3 separate regions of the Homo sapiens genome follow, and regions 1 and 2 are each linked to region 3. Evidence: promoter capture Hi-C in 16 types of primary human blood cells and fetal thymus (Javierre and others, 2016). All regions are on one chromosome and are shown on one strand. Each heading gives the region's core, a stretch centred on a gene start or on the middle of the fragment in contact. The rest is flanking DNA. Distances are from core to core; before and after follow the strand shown. Region 1 holds the start of BCL6B (BCL6B transcription repressor). Region 2 has its middle 11 kb from the start of SLC16A11. Region 3 holds the start of MPDU1 (mannose-P-dolichol utilization defect 1).

What was found. Contacts are between HindIII fragments. The CHiCAGO score rates a contact against its expected background, and 5 or more counts as called.
Region 1: a contact is called between the fragment with the promoter of BCL6B here and the fragment with the promoter of MPDU1 in region 3, in 1 of 17 cell types (monocytes). The highest score is 7.9, in monocytes.
Region 2: a fragment that was not itself captured here is called in contact with the fragment with the promoter of MPDU1 in region 3 in 1 of 17 cell types (total B cells); the score reaches 5.4 in total B cells.

Annotation. Positions count from the first base shown.
Region 1 is chr17:7,020,804-7,024,509 of GRCh38, forward strand. It overlaps BCL6B (BCL6B transcription repressor), which reads left to right and starts at 2,247. Exons shown (of 9, transcript NM_181844.4): 1 at 2,247-2,296; 2 at 2,857-3,047; 3 at 3,280-3,501; 4 at 3,598-3,706. The coding sequence starts at 2,869. RefSeq lists a silencer at 1,201-1,340. The HindIII fragment of the contact is 4,378 bases long and covers 145-3,706 here.
Region 2 is chr17:7,053,288-7,056,661 of GRCh38, forward strand. No RefSeq gene overlaps it. Among named protein-coding and RNA genes, the nearest start is that of SLC16A11, 11 kb to the left of the region's middle. The HindIII fragment of the contact is 959 bases long and covers 952-1,910 here.
Region 3 is chr17:7,582,145-7,585,550 of GRCh38, forward strand. It overlaps MPDU1 (mannose-P-dolichol utilization defect 1), which reads left to right and starts at 1,708. Exons shown (of 7, transcript NM_004870.4): 1 at 1,708-1,821. The coding sequence starts at 1,719. MPDU1-AS1 (MPDU1 antisense RNA 1) reads right to left here and starts at 1,948. Exons shown (of 2, transcript NR_136402.2): 1 at 1,774-1,948; 2 at 1-19. RefSeq lists enhancers at 532-1,405, 1,357-1,406, 1,406-2,280, 1,517-2,046, 2,281-3,153. The HindIII fragment of the contact is 8,258 bases long and covers 1,504-3,406 here.

The DNA.
Region 1 (3,706 bases), core at 997-3,496, 560 kb before region 3:
TGTTTCTCCCCTGGGGAAAAAGCTTCTTGGGTATCCATGGATACACAGGAATACCCCACGTCTTTCCACTTTGTGGAACGTGAGTGTCCACAAGACTCAAATATAAAAGTTTGCTCCCCCCTCCCAGGACCCCCAATCACAGAAAGCTTCGAACTTGCTCCCAGCTTCCTATAATGTTCCACCTCAAACTAATTTTTAAAACTCCAAATTGAACTTATTCCCCAAATCTAATCTGAGCCTTGAAACTTAGATGGCACCCCAAAATAGACTGCACCCCCAAATCAGCATGAGTACTTTGGTTCTGCTGATAGTCCAAGATGACACAGGTGAGCACAATCTCCAAATTGTGGGTGTCAGAACCCCCAGAACTAATGTAACTTCCAAGTCAGCCCCATACCTGAAACTTACCATATAGGCCTCAAAGGCTGAATGCAGCCACCGGTGCTCACAATCAAATCAACACCCCATAATAAACAGACACCCCACAACTGATCAAATAATACTCCATCCTGATGCCAAAGGGAGAGCCCCTAGTCTAATTCTCATCTCCAAGCTGGGCAGAGACCTAAATAACCCTCACATGTCAAAGCCACCTCATCGTCCTGAATTTCCCAGTTCCCGGTTTCTCAGCTGTTCTTTCATGCATTCAAATAAAGACACACTCCGGTCTGAAGGGGAGGGCCCCGGGCCTGATATCCAGCCCCGTGGACCATGGTCGGCCATTCCTGGCCAACTGTACACTCTCCCCAGCCCAAATCCGGGGAGCTTCTGCCTTGCAGCTGGATTCAGCTCTAGCACCCCTTCTCCAAATGAGCTTTGCCTTGCCTGCCCGCAATGTCTCCCGAAACAAAATATGAGGGTGTGATCCATGCCCATCTCTCAGATCAGGGACTTCAAATTAGGGTGGTTAAGCCCCCTCCTGCCCTCTCTCCCTCCTCCTTGTTTTCCCTTCTCGTTTACCCCACCCAATTTTAATGTTCAATTAAAAGTCACCTCCAAAGACATCTGGGTAGCAGTGTCTAGCTTAATTCGAAAAGAAAACCCGGAGTTCCCAGGCTCAGGTCCCGCTTCTTGTCCCACCCATTCCCCTGGCTCCTAAAGCCCGCGATTTCTCACCTCGGGTAGGAACCCCAGCCTGAGGGGAAAGTCCCCTCGGTCTCCTAACTCTAGCTCCCTCCGCCCAGCCCTAGTCCCCTCCTAGGAGACAGAGGTGCAAAATAAACCCGCGCAAAGGGGAGGAGGCTAAAGGTTTCAGCCGCCCAGACCAAATGGATCCTGCGCCCGGGTCTGAGCGCACCCCAGGCCGGGTGGAGACGAGGGGCGAGGCGAGGCCAGTGCTCGGCCGCCCCCTCGTGGAAGGAGCCGCACATTGCCGAGCCTTGCCTACTTGCCGCGCTGGACCCCGGCGTCCCGCCAGCCTCCAAGCGTAGCCGACGGGCGGGTGCCCGAGGCCCTCGTGAGCTGGGATTGGGGGAAAGCAAGCGGGCTTTGGGCGGGAGTCCATCTCTCTGGATCCCTACAAGGACCCAGAAGAGAGTCGGGAGCGAGAGAGGCCGGACGCCTAGGTCTCCCGAGCGTCTCTCGCCCCTCCACCCCCACCTCGGGGCTTTCCCCACCTCCTCGAGGGGAAGCAGCTGGCGGAGCCGTCCGGTCGCAGGACAATGGAAGGAAACCAACTAGAAATCATATCCGCCCTCTCCGTACCCCGCCCGGCCAGAGCCCCCCTTTTTGTAGGCCCGGGTAGAGTAGCCTGTCATTCACACCACACCCTCCCCGTCTGAGACCCTACGGGAGCCCACTGTCGTCTGCCCAAACCTGCTGTCTCGTTGGGCTCCCCCTTTTCTCCCTTAACACAGTACAAGAGAGGGAGAGGGGGTTGCCGTATGCACTTTGTCCTGCAGCAAAGGTTGGCTCCTGGCAAACCCTCCCAAAAGCCAACACACCAATTTTCACTGGCCCAGGCCTTCCGACGACTCAGACTCCCGTATTGCCAACCTCGATATCCCTAACCTCCTCCCCAATTCCAATATCCCCGTCCTCGTGTCCACTTGCAGTGACCCAAGACCCCCTACGTTACGACCACCCCTTGTTTCTGAGGTCCCGCCCTCGAGACGGAGACCCCGCCCTGGACTCGCCATCTGGAGAGCGAGGGAGGAAGGAAGGATACAGACCCAGGCGTTCACCCCACCTCCACCCCCGCCCCCGACATCCCGGCCAGATAAAGGAGCCGAGGCCAAGAGGGGAGAGAGACCCCGCCCCCCTTAAGAAGAGAAGCCGCGGCCCCTGCAGGACGGGGGTAAGAACAAGAGACTGAGGGAGCCAGACTCCTGGGTCCCCCAAGAGGGTAGGAGCTTGTGTGGAGCTTGCCATCAGCGAGCCTGAGTCCCAGAAATTGGGCTAAACTAGGGATTGGGGACTAGATAGGAGTCGCAGAATTCCGTAGTTCGGGGAAGGGAGCCTCGGCTGGGATTTGGAGGTGTGTGGACGGCAGGCCGTGAGATCTCGAGGCAGGGTTGGACACCTGAGACACAGGCGCGCAGAGGGGAGTGGCGGTGCTGGAGGGGCACTGGGGGTCGAACCCAGGGCGATGGGCGCGGGATTCCCCACGCTCGCCAACGACGCCGCGGTGTGGAACCTTCAACTGGCTCCAAGCGCTGTGGGATCTGGAAGAGGCAAGGGAGCGAGGGTGTCGTAGAGGGCAGAATGAACAAGAAGAATTAGGAGGGAGGCTGCGTGTGCCGGGGCTAGGGGCTGGAAGTCCTGGCTCTAGTTGCACCTCGGAAGGAAAAGGCAAACAGAGGAGGGAAGGCGTCTTAGGACTGCCTGGATCCAGAGCACTTTCCACGGCCTCTACAGGCCTGTGTCGCTATGGGTTCCCCCGCCGCCCCGGAGGGAGCGCTGGGCTACGTCCGCGAGTTCACTCGCCACTCCTCCGACGTGCTGGGCAACCTCAACGAGCTGCGCCTGCGCGGGATCCTCACTGACGTCACGCTGCTGGTTGGCGGGCAACCCCTCAGAGCACACAAGGCAGTTCTCATCGCCTGCAGGTTCGAGGGGTGGGGCCTGGGGCGGGGCCAAATGGGAAAGGGGTGGGACCACAGGGCCGTTGAGAGGGAATCCGAAGCCAAGTCTTTCAGAAGCAGGAGGCGGAGCGTCCCAGAATTGGGGGCGGGGTGATAGTGAGGAGGCGGGACTTTTTCAGGGGGCGGGGCTTCCTGAAGCTGCGCATGTCTCCCTTGGTTCCCCAGCCCCCAAAGGACTTATCTGCTCTCTCTCTAGTGGCTTCTTCTATTCAATTTTCCGGGGCCGTGCGGGAGTCGGGGTGGACGTGCTCTCTCTGCCCGGGGGTCCCGAAGCGAGAGGCTTCGCCCCTCTATTGGACTTCATGTACACTTCGCGCCTGCGCCTCTCTCCAGCCACTGCACCAGCAGTCCTAGCGGCCGCCACCTATTTGCAGATGGAGCACGTGGTCCAGGCATGCCACCGCTTCATCCAGGCCAGGTGAGGGACCCTGGCTCGGCGTTCTCTGTGGGTGAGGTGTTAAGGGCAAAGGCAGAGTTTAGGAAATGGCACTAACGTTCATCACACTTTCCCCAGCTATGAACCTCTGGGCATCTCCCTGCGCCCCCTGGAAGCAGAACCCCCAACACCCCCAACGGCCCCTCCACCAGGTAGTCCCAGGCGCTCCGAAGGACACCCAGACCCA
Region 2 (3,374 bases), core at 181-2,680, 530 kb before region 3:
TTGGTGAGACTTCAGTGAAGTAAAGCTTGGGAAGGACCCAGCACAACTCCAGGCACAGGGCAGGCGTCCTACAAATGTAGGTTCCCATCCATTTCATTCCATCCCATTTTCTAGCCACCGGTAGCCACCCTTTCATCTCTACGCCAGTCCAATTCTACTCCAAGTCACTATGCCCCTCCTGTCTGGATTTGTGAGGGGCAGTCAGACCAGAAGGGGCCAGAAGGTGATATTTGTCATCTCCCTGCTGCTATACCAACCTCTCAGCTACCTGAGTTTTTTGGGTCCCTTTGTCTGCCTTCCCAGCCTCAGCCTGAGACCTGGGCATCTGACTTGAAGGATGCAGGCTCTTAGTGGACATGGTAACCCACATCAGCCCTTAGGGCTGCAGCAGCCCTGCCTGGCCAGAGTCTCTACCTCCCCAAGGAATATCAACCAGGACCAGAAGCCAAGGCAGGAGGGGACAGGAGGTCAGATAACAGGTTTTCTGCAGGGATGTAAATTACACATCTTGGAGGATCTGACATATGCAAGGCAGAGTTTTGGGGGCCCAGTAAGCAAATGGTGCCTGTTTTCTTGCCCCAAGGCAGAAATGCCTTTGTGAACACTGGGAGGAGTCGCGTGGGGGCTAAGCCCTGAGAAAGTCCCAAAGTCATAGAAGGGCCCAGACGCTGAAGAGGCTGCAACTGGCTGCAGTGGATGCCACACAAGCCTCTTCCTGTCCTTGTGCAGGTGGATCTTGTCCCTCCCAGTGCGTTCCTTTCTGTACCTCTTGTTGGCCATGAATCTCCTTTGCCCCTGCCCACATCTCCATGCCATTTCCTCTGCAAAGCTTTCTCCTGCCTCTCCCCTACTGTCAAAACGTTTTAAATGCTGGGCAGCATCTCTTCTTTAGGGTTCCTTCCCTCTATCCCATTCAAAGAGCCATACCCAGCTTTAGCTACCTCCATCTCAAGCTTTCATCCTATCTTTCTCTCCTCCATTCACAATCAGGAGTCCCTTGCAATGAGACCGATTCTGGTTTAAAACACATTTGTGAGGGACGGGTGTCATGGTCTCACCTGGAGGGAAATCACACCTGCACAGGCCTACAGAGAGGTGAGGCGGGGCCTCGGGCATCTCATCAACTGGGTACGTAGAAAGAGGACTCTGATTTTTTTTTTTTTAGATGGAGTCTCATTCTGTCACCCAGGCTGGAGTGCAGTGGCGCAATCTCTGCTCACTGCAACCTCCGCCTCCCAGGTTCAAGCAATTCGCCTGCCTCAGCCTCCCGAGTAGCTGGGATTACAGGCACATGCCGCCATGCCCGGCTAATTTTTTGTATTTTAGTAGAGACAGGGATTCACCGTGTTACCCAGGCTGGTGGTGAACTCCCAAGCTCAGGTAATCCACCTGCCTCGGCCTCCCAAAGTGCTGGGATTACAGGCTTAAGCCACCATGCCCGGCCGAGCACCCTGATTTATGGGTAATCAGCTTCCCCTTCCCTGGGCCCAGGGATCTGGGAGATAGGAAGTTGATGCCACCGCCCCAAGAGCTGATGTTTCAGGACTGTGGCCAGTGAGTGCTGAACACAGTGAGCAGCAGAGTGGGCTGACACCTGAGCTCCAGGACTCATAAAGCCCCGCTGTTCTTGCATGGCATGTGGTTTCTGGGTTTATTTCCCTGTTGTCCTTGAGGAGAGTATATTTATTCCCTAAGTATGCAGGGCTTAGGGCTAAAAGCATTCCCCATGCTTACAGAAATGCTAGGGATATGAAAAAGTGTACCGATTTCCAAATACAAAAGGCAAACTTAAAAATCTAAAGTAATGAATATTAAAGCGTTTTTAAAAATGTCTACAAAACATAATATTAGTCCATTTCTTTGTTAAATTTCATGTTCCTAAATTTTCATTACATTGGAAAACAATTTGAAGCTTTTTTTCACTTTGCAGGATTTCCTAAATGTTTATCGTGATTGCTGAGAAATCAGAGCCAATCATAGATTCACTGAGTTTCTTATAGACAAACAATCCTTTAAAAGAATAAACGTCCTTTTAAGATTTTAAACGGCAAAAAATCTTAGAAATCTTTTAAATTTTTGGGCCGGGCACGGTGGCTCACGCTTGTAATCCCAGCACTTTGGGAGGCCGAGGTGGGCGGATCACGAGGTCAGGAGATCGAGACCATCCTGGCTAACAGGGTGAAACCCCATCTCCACTAAAAACACAAAAAAATTAGCCGGGTGTAGTGGCGGGCACCTGTAGTCCCAGCTACTCGGGAGGATGAGGCAGGAGAACGGAGTGAACCCAGGAGGCGGAGCTTGCAGTGAGCAGGGATCGCACCACTGCACTCCAGCCTGGGCGACAGAACAAGACTCCGTCTCAAAAAAAAAAAAAAGAAATCTTTTAAATTTTTAATTGTAAAAATATATTTAGTGTGGAATGTGAGTGTATTTTAGTATATGTTATTAAGAGGCAACATAACATGGTGGGACAAACACGAACCCTGGAACCAGATTGTCTGGGTTCAAGCCCTGGCTTTGGTACTTACTGGCTATATAACCTAGAGCAAGTTATTCAACCTCTCTTTGCAATAGTTCCCTCATCCCCAAAGCAAATTATAATAGTTCCTACTTTTGAGGAAAAAAAAGATGGTAATTGCTATGATCTTAATGTTTGTGCCTCTCCCCGTCAAATTCATATGTTGAAATCTAATCCCAGGCCGGGTCCGGTGGCTCACGCCTGTAATCCCAACACTTTGGGAGGCCGAGGTGGGCGGATCACCTGAGATCAGGAGTTCGAGATCAGCCTGACCAACATGGAGATACTCTGTCTCTACTAAAAATACAAAAAAATTAGCCGGGCACGGTGGCACATGCCTGTAATCCCAGCTACTCGGGAGGCTGAGGCAGGAGAATTGCTTAAACCTGGGAGGCGGAGGTTGTGGTGAGCCGAGATCATGCCATTGCACTCCAGCCTGGGCAACAAGAGCGAAACTCCATCTCAAAAAAAAAAAAAAAAAATCTAGTCCCCAATGCGAAGTATTAAGAGGTGGGTCCTTTAGGAGGTGACTGAGGCCTTCATGAGGATGAAGACCTTGTGAATGAGATTGAGTGCCCTTATGAAAGAGGCCTGAGGCAGCCTGTCCACTCCTTCTGCCCTGTGAGGACACAGCTAGAAGGTGCCATCTATGAGAGCAAGCCCTTACCAAACACCAAATCTTCTGGCTTCCCAGCTTCCAGAAATGTGAGCAATAAATTTCTGTGGTTTTTGTTTGTTTTTCAGAGATGCGTCTCACTTTGTTGCCCAGACTGCTCCTGGCCTCAAGCAGTTCTCTCACCGCAGCCTCCAGAGCTGCTGGGATTACAAGCATAAGCCACCACACCTGGCTCAAATT
Region 3 (3,406 bases), core at 458-2,957:
AGGGAGCCGGAAGCAGCTGCTGAGGAGGGATGAAAATGTCAGTGTGTGACGATGCCTCATGGGTTCACCCCCCAAAGCCTGGCACAGCTGGTGTTGGGTCTGCCGTGCCTCCCTTCCTTCCTCCTCTTGGGGCCACTGGCTGCTCCAGTTCCCCATCCGTGGCAAGCCGGTAGAGCCATTCATCCCCGCAGCCTTCTTCCTGACCCTCGTACAGTTTCAAATGCAGCAGACAGCCAAAGCAATGAGTGGGGGGCTGTGGAACTTCATTCCCAAAGGCAGCGCCAGTGGCTCCTGAGCAATGAGAATGTCCTGTCCTGTCCACCATATTCAAGGCCAGCAGAAGAGCCCGATTAAACCCTCGCAGCACCTGGCATGCTCCTATCCCACCTACAAGGGGTTGAATCAAGAAGGAGCAGTGGGTACTCTGACCTCCACTGGGGGCTCCTGGGAACAGCATGCCCCCCACACGGGGCCACCTGCCAAGCCTAACTTCATGCCCCCAGTACTTGAGATGAGGAGTGTCACTCTCAGGACAGCCAAGGTCCAGATTCCAGAAAGGACCTCCCAGATGGCCACAGCCTGCACCAGCAGTGAGCGCCAGTCCCACCCATTACAGCTGGCTACGGCGCAATCCCTGGGAGCCAGGATGAGCAGCACCCCCCAGCCGTAGGAGCCCCAGGAGGCTTCCGGCCTCCAAGGCCCAGAGACTGCCCCACAAGGGCAGCCCTCACCTGGCAGGGCCCCAGCAGCCCCACCTCTGCCTGCAGACATCCGTGTGACCTTGTAGACTTTGGAGGGGGGCCGCCAAAGGGCTGATCCACAGCGGAATGACGCACGGGTGGGCACCGTGGGTTGGCGTCCCGGCGGTCGGTAACGAAGCACAACGCCCCCACCAGGTAGTCCAAGGTGCCCTTTCCCAAGCAGCGCTGCAGGGTCCACTCGGCCTCGCCGAAGTCTCTGCCCAGCACGTGGTGCGCCCTCGGGCCAGCGGGGAGGGGGCGAATCCCGGGACTGCCTCGCCAGGCCTCGGCTCCCCGGAGACTCTTGGGGGTCTGGGCCCCAAGGGTGATTCAGGTGCTGCCCTTCCCCGACCTGGGCTCGCCTCCCCCACCTCCTCCTCTGCTTCACTGTCCCGGGCCCAGCAGTTGCCGGCGCACTCATGCTCCGAGGCCTGAGCCAACCGGAGGCGAGACAAGCACAGGGCCCTGCGCGCAACCCGGCACCTAAGGAGGCCTGCCCGGTGCAGACTCTCCTGCTCCCACCGGCGCCCTTCCCTCTAGAGACGCTGAGAGAACGGGAGCTAGTAGCGCCCCCACCCAACGCCACCTCGGAGACTCCGGCTCCTTCTCTCTCAACTTCGAACAATACAAAGTGTGCTAGGAGAAGACAAGATGGCGCCCAGCAGGAGGAGCGGAGAAAGGCAGGGGTGTAAATCTGGCTTCCAAACTGGAAGCGTCAACAAAGGCGTGGGAGGTCTAACCGCGCAGGCGTGCAGCTTCGGCAAGCTTTACAATTCCAACAGCGCGTCCAAAACGTGGTCCCTGACTGAGACTTATTTTACGCCACTAGAGTGAGGGTGGGTAGCGTCAGAAAGAGCGGGGCACGGGGCGGGCCAGCTTCGCCGCGGGAAAAGAACGGGAGGCGGAGTGTCCGCAGCGCGCACGCGCAACGAAAGTCAATGGCGGTCTGGAGAGACTGGCGGAAGCTAGCTTTGCAATATGGCGGCCGAGGCGGACGGACCGCTTAAACGGCTGCTCGTGCCGATTCTTTTACCTGAGAAATGCTACGACCAACTTTTCGTTCAGTGGGACTTGCTTCACGGTGAGTTTTATTCAGCATCCGATCCAAGTCCTACTCGAGTGACCGTGGGCCCTTAGTCCAAGCCTTGATCGGCGACTAAGTGACGGCAGTGACTGCCGCCATGCCGAGCTGGACGGAAGTCACTTCTGAGAAGGGCGGAAGTGTCTCGGGCTCCTTAGAGGGAGGACACCATATTAGTGCCAGTGGGGAAGTCACCGGGTGGAATTACTTCTTTGTGGAGTTTGTGCTGTAGCGACAATGAAAAACGAAGAGTCAACTTTTATAAAACAAAATAAAAATTAAGTCAAATCATGCCAACCTTTATTAGATCGCTAGCAGGGTTAAACTTAATTCAAAGCCCCTGATGAATCGGGCCTTCATTGCACCCCCAAAGGCTCCGCCACCCTGATTGCTTTCTTTCCAGCCTCCAGGTTTGCTCATAGTCTGATTTCGGAATAATTTGCCTCCCTTCCTTTTTCTGATTGCGAGACAGCTCCACAAGGGTCACCGTCAGACCGTTTGGGGAGCGTCAGTCTGCCCCTGTCAGTTCATGGTACCTCTCTTGAGCTCGTGGGGCACTTTGTTTTAGCCGCATTCATGACCCGTGAGAGTCAGACTCCCACTAGACCAAGTTCCTTGAGGGGAAGGCTTCAAGGCTAGAGAAGTTGTGGATGGCCAGGGCATAAAAGCAAGCCTTGAAAGGGTAAGGTTTAGTCCCTGAGTAGGGGCCAGGGACAGTCAGAGTGTTCAAGAAAGAGTGGTATGGGGCGGGCACGGTGGCTCACGCCTGTAATCCCAGCACTTTGGGAGGCCGAAGCGGGTGGATCACCTGAGGTCAGGCGTTCGAGACCAGCCTGGCCAATAGGGCGAAACCCCGCCTCTACTAAAAATACAAAAAATTAGCCGGGCGTTGTGGCAGGCGCCTGTAATCCCAGCTACTCGGGAGGCTGAGGCAGGAGAATCGCTTAAACCCGGGAGACAGAGGTTACAGTGAGCCAAGATCGTGCCATTGCACTCCAGCCTGGGCAACAAGAGTGAAACTCCGTCTCAAAATTAAAATAAGAAAAAAAAAATGGTATGAAGACTTGTCTTTGGAGAGAGAAGACATGTGAAATGGGGCACCCATTGGCCCAGAGAAGGGAAATAAAGGATCAGAGAGCTCTTGGGCATTTCTCAGCTTTATATGGGGAAGCAATGGAGAGCCGTGGAGGTCAAGCCAAGTTTGGGTGTTAATTTATAGGGAATGGAAGATTGGATGTGGGGGGTGGTAGGCATCGGAGAAAAGCTGTTTTGGAAAGTAACAGTCTGGGGCCCGGTGCGGTAGCTCGAGCTTATAATCCCAGCACTTTAAGGAGGCTGAGGCAGGTGGATCATCTGAGGTCAGGAGTTCGAGACCAGCCTGGCCAACATGGTGAAACCCTGTCTCTACTAAAAACACAAAAATTAACCGGGCATGGTGGTGTGTGCCTGTAATTCTAGCTACTTGGGAGGCTGAGACAAGAGAATTGCTTGAACCCAAGAGGCAGAGGCTGCAGTGGGCTGAGATTGGGCCACTGCACTCCAGCCTGGGTGACAGAGCAAGACTCTGTCTCCAAAAAAAAAAAAA